3 separate regions of the Homo sapiens genome follow, and regions 2 and 3 are each linked to region 1. Evidence: promoter capture Hi-C in 16 types of primary human blood cells and fetal thymus (Javierre and others, 2016). All regions are on one chromosome and are shown on one strand. The core of a region is centred on a gene start or on the middle of the fragment in contact, and the rest is flanking DNA. Distances in the headings are between cores, read along the strand shown.

Region 1 (2,700 bases), core at 9-2,508:
CCCCTGCACCTAAGACGACAGAGGGGGACGCCGCACGCCTGGTGCCCATGGACCCGCGTGGGGCACGGAGCCCCCACGCGCGCGCTCGCACGCACGTCCCCAGCCGGGAGAGGCGCTCGCAGCGGCCCGCGGCGCCAGCAGGGCACGACCGCTTACCTTGGCATGGTGGAGGTAGAGCAGCAAGGCAAGGCTCCAATGCACCCAAGACAGCAGAAAGTTCATGGTTTCGGAGGCCCGACCGGGGCCGGCGCGGCTCGCGCTCCCTCTCCGGCTCGGGCTGTGGGGCGGCCCGCTCTCCTCGGCGCCTCGGCGAGCTACTCTTCCTCCCCGGCCCGAGGCCCGGGCCAGGGCCTGGGGAGCGCGCGCGGCTGGAGCACTGTCTGCGCACACCGCCGCCTCACCCGTCCATGAGCCCGGCTTCCGAGCGCCGAGTCGCCACTGCGGCCCCCTCTCCTCTTCCTTCTCTTCTTCCTCCTCCCCCTCCTCCGGCTGCGGCTCCTCCCGGCCCGAGCTAGCACTTCTCGCGGCTCCGCTCGGCTCGGCTTCCCCCGCGCGGACCACGGCTCCTCCGAAGCGAGAACAGCCCAGAAGTTGGACGAAAAGTTTCAGTGCGACGCCGCGAGCCCCGACCCCCTCCACCCCGCCTCCGGGCGCGGGCTCCGGCCCCTGCCCGCGGCTCGCCGCCGCGTCCACTGTCCGCCGCCGGCCGGGGAGGAGGTGGTAGCTGGGGCTGGGGGCGGTGTCTGTCTGTCTGTCCGTCAGCGCGACTGGTCAGCTGCGGGATCCCAAGGGGGAGGGCTCACGCCGCGCTCCGGCGGTCACCCCCAAAAGCAGGTCACTCACTTTGCCCCTGTCGCTTTCGCTGCTCGCACGCCCGCGCGCTCTCTCTGACCCCGTCTCTCTCTTCCTCGACTTCTCTCTGGAGCTCTTGCTACCTCTTTCCTCTTTCTGCTGGTTTCCAAAATCCACAGTGATTTGGGGAAGTAGAGCAATCTCCCCAAGCCGTCGGCCCGATTCAAGTGGGGAATGGCAAGCAAAAATAAATTAAAACGAGAAACAATACAGTTTTAAAAAAAAATGTTTAAGAAAAAAGAAGAGGGATAAAACCCGGATCAATGAATATCAAATTCCAGCACCGAGCGCCCTGGCCGGTGAGTCCGCTGACCGGTCCACCTAACCGCTGCGCCTCCCGACAGAGCGCTGGTGCTAGCCCCCAGCGCCACGACCTCCGAGCTACCCGGCTGCCCCAAGCCTCCGCGATCCTCCCCGCTACCAGCCGACTTTTAAAAAAAAAAGGGGGGGGCGCATGGCTCCGCCCCGCCGGGACCCCGCCCCCGGCCCGCCCCGGGGGGCGGGGACAGGCGAGCCTCAGCCCTTCCACACGCGGCTCGGGCCCGGGCTCTGCGGACGCTCAGTGAAGCCTGGCCCGCAGCCCGCCGCAATGAAGGGGAAGCTCGACCCCCACCAAGGTTCACAGCCTGAAAATTACCCATCCGCCCCCGGAAACTCTGTCCAGAGACACGCGCCCGCGGGGCATTGGCGAGGAGGGAGCAGGAAAGTGAGGTTACGTGCGGACAGGGCCTGAGAGCCGTTCCCTCTTTGCTAGGAATATTGAAGGGGGCAGGGGAAGGCGGAGAGCCGGACAGGGACGGGTGGGGAGAGGGACACACAGATCTATTGGAATCCTGGAGTGACCCCTGGCCTTCTCCCCGCTCCAACGCCCTCAACCCCACACGCACACACTCACTCACCCACACAGACACACACGTCCTCACTCTCGAAGACGCTGCTCGCTCCATTCACCCAGCTTCCCTGTGGTGGCCGAGCGCCCCCTAGTGACTGCCGTCTGCACACCCCGGCTCTGGCTAAAGAGGGAATGGGCTTTGGAAAGGGGGTGGGGGGAGTTTGCTCCTGGACCCCCTATTTCTGACCTCCCAAACAGCTACATATTTGGGACTGGAGTTGCTTCATGTACAGAGAGCCCAGGGCTGGGCACAGGGGCCACAGTGTGTCCCTCTGACAATGTGCCATCTGGAGCCCTCATCTGGCCTGCAGACATCAAAGTGAGCGGCAGCCAACAGGCTGGAGTGACTGGGGTCCTTTGGGAAGTGTCCAGGGATGCTTCCCAGGGGAGAAGAATTTGGCACCAAGTTTGTGGAGCTGAGAACGGGAAGCTGTGTGGTTCCGGGGTTAGTCAGTGACTGGGAGGGAAGAGGACCTGTTGGAGCCCACGTATGCACTGTGGAGTCTGGCAAAACCCAAAGGGGGAGGCAGCTGGGCAGACAGAGGCCCTTGTTCCTGCTGCCCCCCCAACCCCAGATGTTGCCAGGGAACTGAGGCCAGGGGGCTGGTGGGGGCGGGTGGAGGCCAGGGCCTGCGTGATGATTCAAACCTACCCGCCAGCACTAAGGAACGTCTGTAGGCCAGCTGCCCAGAGCTCCCACCAGGCCAGGGGCCAAGGCTTCTATCAGCCCAAGCCCAGACTCATAGCTCATCTTCTGAATAGAAATGGGGGTTTCGTCTCAGCTCCCCCATTCCCTCAGGATCCCTTGGCTACTTCTCCAGGCTCACAGCTTCTCCCCTATCCTTCCCCCAGTCCCCTCCCTTACCTCCAAGCCCCCTTTTCCTCCAACTCTCCACATCTTCCCTAAGTGCTCCCAAAGGCCCCATCCCATTCTTGCATATAGGAAGCAGCTTGGA
Region 2 (2,700 bases), core at 170-2,669, 260 kb before region 1:
CTGTTGGAATTTATGTCCATATTAGGAGTGATGTAGCGAATCCAGATTTATTTATTTTTGATCCAAATATCTGACTAGTATCTCAATTTATTGAATTGAATTCTCATGTTTATTTGGGCCTATTTAAAATTGTTTTATTCTTTCCAATTGATCTGTATGCAGGCACCAGTCCCACACTATTTTAATTATTGTAGCTGTATACTATTTTTGAAAAATGTTTTATAGTGCTACTCTTTCCTTGTTAGTTTACTTATTTTTCCTTCCAGGAATGTTCTATTCATTTATATTTATTTTTCCAGAGGAATTTGTATGTAATCATTTTGTCAAATTATCCCCCAAAAGCAGCTGATATTTTGTACAGAAGTATGCTGAATTTATAGTTTAATTATGGTGACACTGACATGCTTACAATATTACTGACTTTTTATCCAAGGAAAAGGTCTTTCTCCATCGATTCAAGTCTATGTGTATGTCCCTCATTTAGCTTTTACAGCTATTTCCATGTATCTGCACATTTTTTCTATGTGTTTTATGTTAGGTTTTTGTTAACCTTATTAATGGGATGTTTTTCCATATTCTTTTATTAGTTATTTCTTGTATTTAGGAAATCTTGTTTTTAAACTAGCCACTTTGATAAATTCCTGATATTACTAAAAGTTCTTTAGCTGATTCTCTTGGAATATCCAAGTATAGAGTAATATCATCCAATGATAATAACTGCTTTCTTTTTACAATATTTATACCTCTTATTTTATTTTTCATCTAACTGCATTGTCAAGTAATTGCAGAACAATATTAAATACTAATGGTGATAGTTTATGGGGAGAGCTGACGTCAACTTTAACGGGACTGCTTTTAGAGTCTCCCCATTAAACATGTTGGGAAAATTAATCTATTTTACATGCTAATATAGTAGGTTATGTTGAGTTTCCCAGAATTTGGCTTTCTTGTACTTCTGGAAAGAATCATACTTAGTCTTGACACATTCTTTTGTCAACACAACTTTCATCAATACTCCCTTCCTTAGCTCAGAACTTCCTCCGTCGTTCATCTTCCTCCCTTGGAAGCAGAGGCACAAAATCAGGGCTGGAGGTGTGAGGCGGGGGCATGGCCAGGGAAGAGCTGAGGCTCAGGACATAGCTGTTGGCCTCCTGTCCCGAAGGAATGAGGATCCACAAGAGCCTCCTTAAGGCTGACAGAGTATGTGGAGACGAGCAGGGGGTTGAGAAGCCCTGGGGGCTGGAGAGGACTGAACAGCAGGGGGCAGGGGTCCTTGGAAGAAAACCAGGACTCTTCTGCTTGCCCCCTGAGGAAGCCCTGCACCTCTGTCACCCTCAGGACTATCTTGAGCCCCAGTCTTTTGAGGGAGGCATGATCCAGAACTTTGGGCCTCTCCCAGGCTAGTGGACTCAATGCAGGCACAGGTGGCTACTCTTACACTAGGACAGGGAGGCTAAAGGAGAGCCCTGAAGGTGGCAGGAGGTCAGGAAGATGTCAGCCTGGCATGGCTATTTCTTAACATTTGCAGCATGCAGCCTTCATGCAGCAGCTTCTGAAAGCAGTGACCACGTCCTCCCCCCTATCTCCTCCAGCATCCCTAGGACTGTTCTTTGGTCCTAAACATATGAAGTCACCGCACCCTCCCTCCATTTCTTGAAGCAGTTTCGAAGTCCTCTGGCCATGACCCTTTCTTAGGAACCTGGCTGACTTCAGCATCACTCTTGGGTGAACATTGCTGTGCCCAGGGCTTGTTGGAGAGAGGAGAGGGTTAGAGGGAGGGAGGGAGGGGATTTTCCAGTGTCCCCTCTGTCCCCTCTGGGCAGGGATTGAAGTGGCAGAGGGTGTGGGCGATGTGCTGAGGCCAGGTAACCAGGAGACAAGAGAGCCCTTTAGATGTCCTCCCTGAGCTGCCCTTCCTTTCCTTACAACTGTCAGCTCTAGGAGCACAGAAGAGGAAATTCCTTGACCTAGAACCTTAGCATCTTCCAGGCCTACAAACCTTTAATTAATGCAGTCATTTAAGAGGAAGGAAGGTGGTTTTGTAACTGTGTTGTATACCTGAGTGAGTATAGACACATTCTCCGCTCTTTCATCAGGAGAGAAAATAGAGCATATAGACAGGTGTGGGGGTAAACTGAGTTTTAGGCAAAGTGAGAAGAGCATGGTCAGCCATTGACAGGAGGCCAGCAAGAGTGAGTGGTGGACACCCTGCTCTGGAGGCAGGGGACTGAACGACGTCTGGATGCTGACGAAGCTGTGAGCATTAAAGGGTTCTTGAATCTTTTCCTGCTACTTTTGGTGCATCCCAGTAGGGACAACTGAAGCCAACCCTATTTCCCAGCCATGGGAGACTGGGAATATAGTGGGAAGACTGGTCAGCAGGAAGGGTCTCCTGCCATCAGACTGGGGCTAAGGACAGAAGTACAGCTTCTGACAAGAAAGGCAAGAGCAAGGCGGGTCCCAGCCTTGGGGGATCCAGGACCCTGGGCAGGCACTAAAGGCAGGGACTTGGATAGAAAGAGGCAAGATGGGCCCTGGAGGTTGGATGTGCACACACAATGAGGGCTAGGCCTTCAGAATGAGGTGGGGTGCATGGCAGAATGAGGAGCCCTTTGGGCATTTGAGGCACAACCCAGGAGGGCTTTCCCTGGAGCCATCTTGCAAAATCATGGTGGATTCTTGACTTGTGTGGCTTCCTGT
Region 3 (2,875 bases), core at 331-2,830, 330 kb before region 1:
ACTCCAGACCTCAGGTGATCCACCTGCCTTGGCCTCCCAAAGTGCTAGGATTACAGGCGTGAGCCACCGCGCCTAGCCTCATTTTTGTTTTTTACGAAGTCCTGTCCATTCTCCTACAGCAGCAGTGCTGTTCCTTTTCCTTCTGGAACTTCACATTTCAATCCAGGGCTCTGACCTGGTCTTGGCATGCTGCCAACTTCTTGCGACAATCTGGCTGCCCACCGAGGTAGAAACCACATCTCTTTCAGCCTTGGTCTGTGGCATATGGTAGTAGGAACAGACAAGAGAAACCAATTTATTGAGGGCTTGCTTTATGCCAGTTTTGTGCTGGACACTTTGCATATTCTCTTCCAAGTCTTCACAATGATGCCGTGTGATTATTGTATCTGATTTATGTGTGAGAAAACCCAGGCTGAGAAGAGTTAAGGGACTTGTAGTCAAGTGGCAGGCTGAGATTTGAAGTCAGGACCACCTGACCACATTTCTTCTGCTTTTTCTGCTGCACTGACCTGTGGTGGAAATATTTCTTGGTAATGTGCCTTCCCTCAGCTATTAAAATAGTTTTCCGGAAGCATCTGTTGGATGACCATTGTGGATACTTGTAGTTACTTCCAGTTGCCTCTTAGGTCAGCACCTTCCGGCCCAAGCTGAGGTCAGTGCTTCCTGCTGGAGGTTGGCTCCTGGCCTTATTTAACACCACTGTTTCCTGTCACTCCACAGCTTGGTCATCTACTCTGCCAAGGAAATGGGCCAGTCTTCATTCTCTGCACTTAGCCAACTGGGGGCTTCCTGGGTCTTGGCTCACCCTGGAGCTGTTAACACCCATTTTCAAGTGGGTTCCTAATGTTTGCTGAGTGAGTTATCAAGTGAAGAAAGAGTGTGGGTTCTTCCCCATCCCCACAAAGGGCCACCACTCACCTCCAGACCCAGTTCCTCATCTGGAAAACCCAAGCTAAGGAAGTCCCTTGCAGCCTGGCGGAGGAACTCTGCTCACTTGGTGCTCTCAACCTGGAGGCGGGGGTTTGTCCCACTTGGAGACCTCGACTTTGCTCATTGCTTCTCCAACCCTGTCGGTACTGTTGCTGCCTTTACACCGGCATAAGCCATGCTGACCCCACAGGTGAGCCTTGGCACATCTTTGGCCTGGAATGTTGTTTTCTCCTTGGAGAAGTGGTCGGTCTGTGGAACCCTGCTCAGGGTGTCTCATCAGTGAAGTTCTGTTCAATTGACATTGGTTGAGCCCTGGGTTGGACATCTTAATCTGTCCCTCGGGGTCCCTCTCACCCTTTTCCACCCTGCCCTGTGCCCCAGGAGGCTGACCTGTATGGACTGCATCAGCGGGCTCCCATTCCTGCAGGGCTGACCACACTCTTCAGTCATATGTCACAGCCCCTCAGGCAGTGCTCTACACTCTTGGGGCCTTGGCGTCAGGGCACTACAGCACCCACTGTACTGGTCCACACCTTTGTAAACAGTCCCTTTGTTAAATTCTCCTCACATTATCCCAATTCAAGTGGCCCCTTGTTGCCTGCTTGGACGCTGACTGATGCAAACATTTACTGTGTGTGCCCAGATGGGCAAAATATGGATCTTGCCCTGGAGAAGCTCTCAGAAGGGAGACAGATCCATGAGCAGTTTCTGCCTCCTGCAGCAGGTGACAGGAGCCCATGTGCTGTGGCAACACTGACCCAGGAGGGTCAGAAAGGCTTCCTGAGGAGATGCCCAGAGCCTGGAAGCTGGACAGTCAGAGTTAGTCAAGTGACAGGCTGAAGTGGGAATACCCTTTCATCCCAGCCAAAACCAGAGGTGTGATGCCGGGTGGGATGTGCCGGGACCTGCCAGCTGTTTGAGGTACCTAGAGGGTTGCAGTGGGGCTGAGGTAGCTGACGGGCCAGGCCAGGGAAGGCTACATAGGTTGCACTAGGTGCTGGGACTTTAACCCTGTCACTGCCCTGCTTTAACTGGCCAGTGGCTCCCCATCCCAGATGGACATTTATTAAGATCACTCAGCTGCTGTGCAAAGAACCCCTCTAAAAGGGTTGGTATGAAGGACCAGGAAGGGAGCAGGGAATTCAGTAAATTCAAGAGATGGCCAGGCGCGGTGGCTCACGCCTGTAATTCCTGCACTTTGGGAGGCCGAGGCGGGTAGATCATCTGAGGTCAGGAGTTTGAGACCAGTCTGGCCAGCGTGGCGAAACTATCTCTACCAAAAATACGAAAATTAGCTGGGCGTGGTGGCATGCACCTGTAATCCCGGCTACTCGGGAGGCTGACACAGGAGAATCGCTTAAACCCGGGAGGCGGAGGTTGAGTGAGCTGAGATCGTGCCACTGCACTCCAGCCTGGGTGACAGAGCAAGACTTCGTCTCAAAAAAAAAAAAAAAAAAAGGAAAACAAAACAAAACAACATAATACTCTGGTAAGGCAAGGCAGGGATGGAGGACAGGAGTTAAGAAAGATTTGAGGGAAAATAGCTATTTAGTAGGTAGAAGTAGCTTGGCATAGAGAAAGGACCATGCTGGGAAACAGGGCAGGGAGTTCAGAAATTCAAGTTAGCACTATCAAATTATCTTGGGATAGGTTATTGAGAGGTGGGCTTTGTATTCAGAGGAACTTCATAGTGAAGGAGAATGGGGTAGGGGGTTGGGGGTGAGCACAGGGCAAGCTGCAGGCTGTTCCTGTGGAGGGGAGCTGGGCCAGCTCAGCTGCTGACTGGTGGAGGCCTGGGCTGAGGCAGGGAGGGGAGATGCCTGCAGCAGCCAATGCACAGCTGGGGGTCTGGTGAGACTGTGTGTGATCTGGGCTACAGGGCTTTCTCTCCTGCTGGCCTGTGCTGCCTCTCGCCCTGCCCTTGTGCTCTGGAGCTGCCCCTCCT

Evidence for each region. Contacts are between HindIII fragments. The CHiCAGO score rates a contact against its expected background, and 5 or more counts as called.
Region 2: a contact is called between a fragment that was not itself captured here and the fragment with the promoter of VEGFA in region 1, in 10 of 17 cell types (erythroblasts, endothelial precursors, total CD8 T cells and 7 more). The highest score is 10.6, in erythroblasts.
Region 3: a fragment that was not itself captured here is called in contact with the fragment with the promoter of VEGFA in region 1 in 3 of 17 cell types (fetal thymus, endothelial precursors and erythroblasts); the score reaches 6.1 in fetal thymus.

The regions. Positions count from the first base shown.
Region 1 is chr6:43,768,769-43,771,468 of GRCh38, reverse strand. It overlaps VEGFA (vascular endothelial growth factor A), which reads right to left and starts at 1,258. Exons shown (of 8, transcript NM_003376.6): 1 at 157-1,258. The coding sequence starts at 762. RefSeq lists enhancers at 1-67, 68-833 and silencers at 1-818, 1,196-1,445. The HindIII fragment of the contact is 11,673 bases long and covers 1-2,700 here.
Region 2 is chr6:44,029,769-44,032,468 of GRCh38, reverse strand. All of the region lies in intron 1 of SCIRT (stem cell inhibitory RNA transcript), which reads left to right. Among named protein-coding and RNA genes, the nearest start is that of LINC03040, 31 kb to the right of the region's middle. The HindIII fragment of the contact is 6,000 bases long and covers 1-2,700 here.
Region 3 is chr6:44,102,622-44,105,496 of GRCh38, reverse strand. No RefSeq gene overlaps it. Among named protein-coding and RNA genes, the nearest start is that of MRPL14, 23 kb to the left of the region's middle. RefSeq lists enhancers at 933-1,102, 2,205-2,753, 2,754-2,875. The HindIII fragment of the contact is 3,964 bases long and covers 1-2,875 here.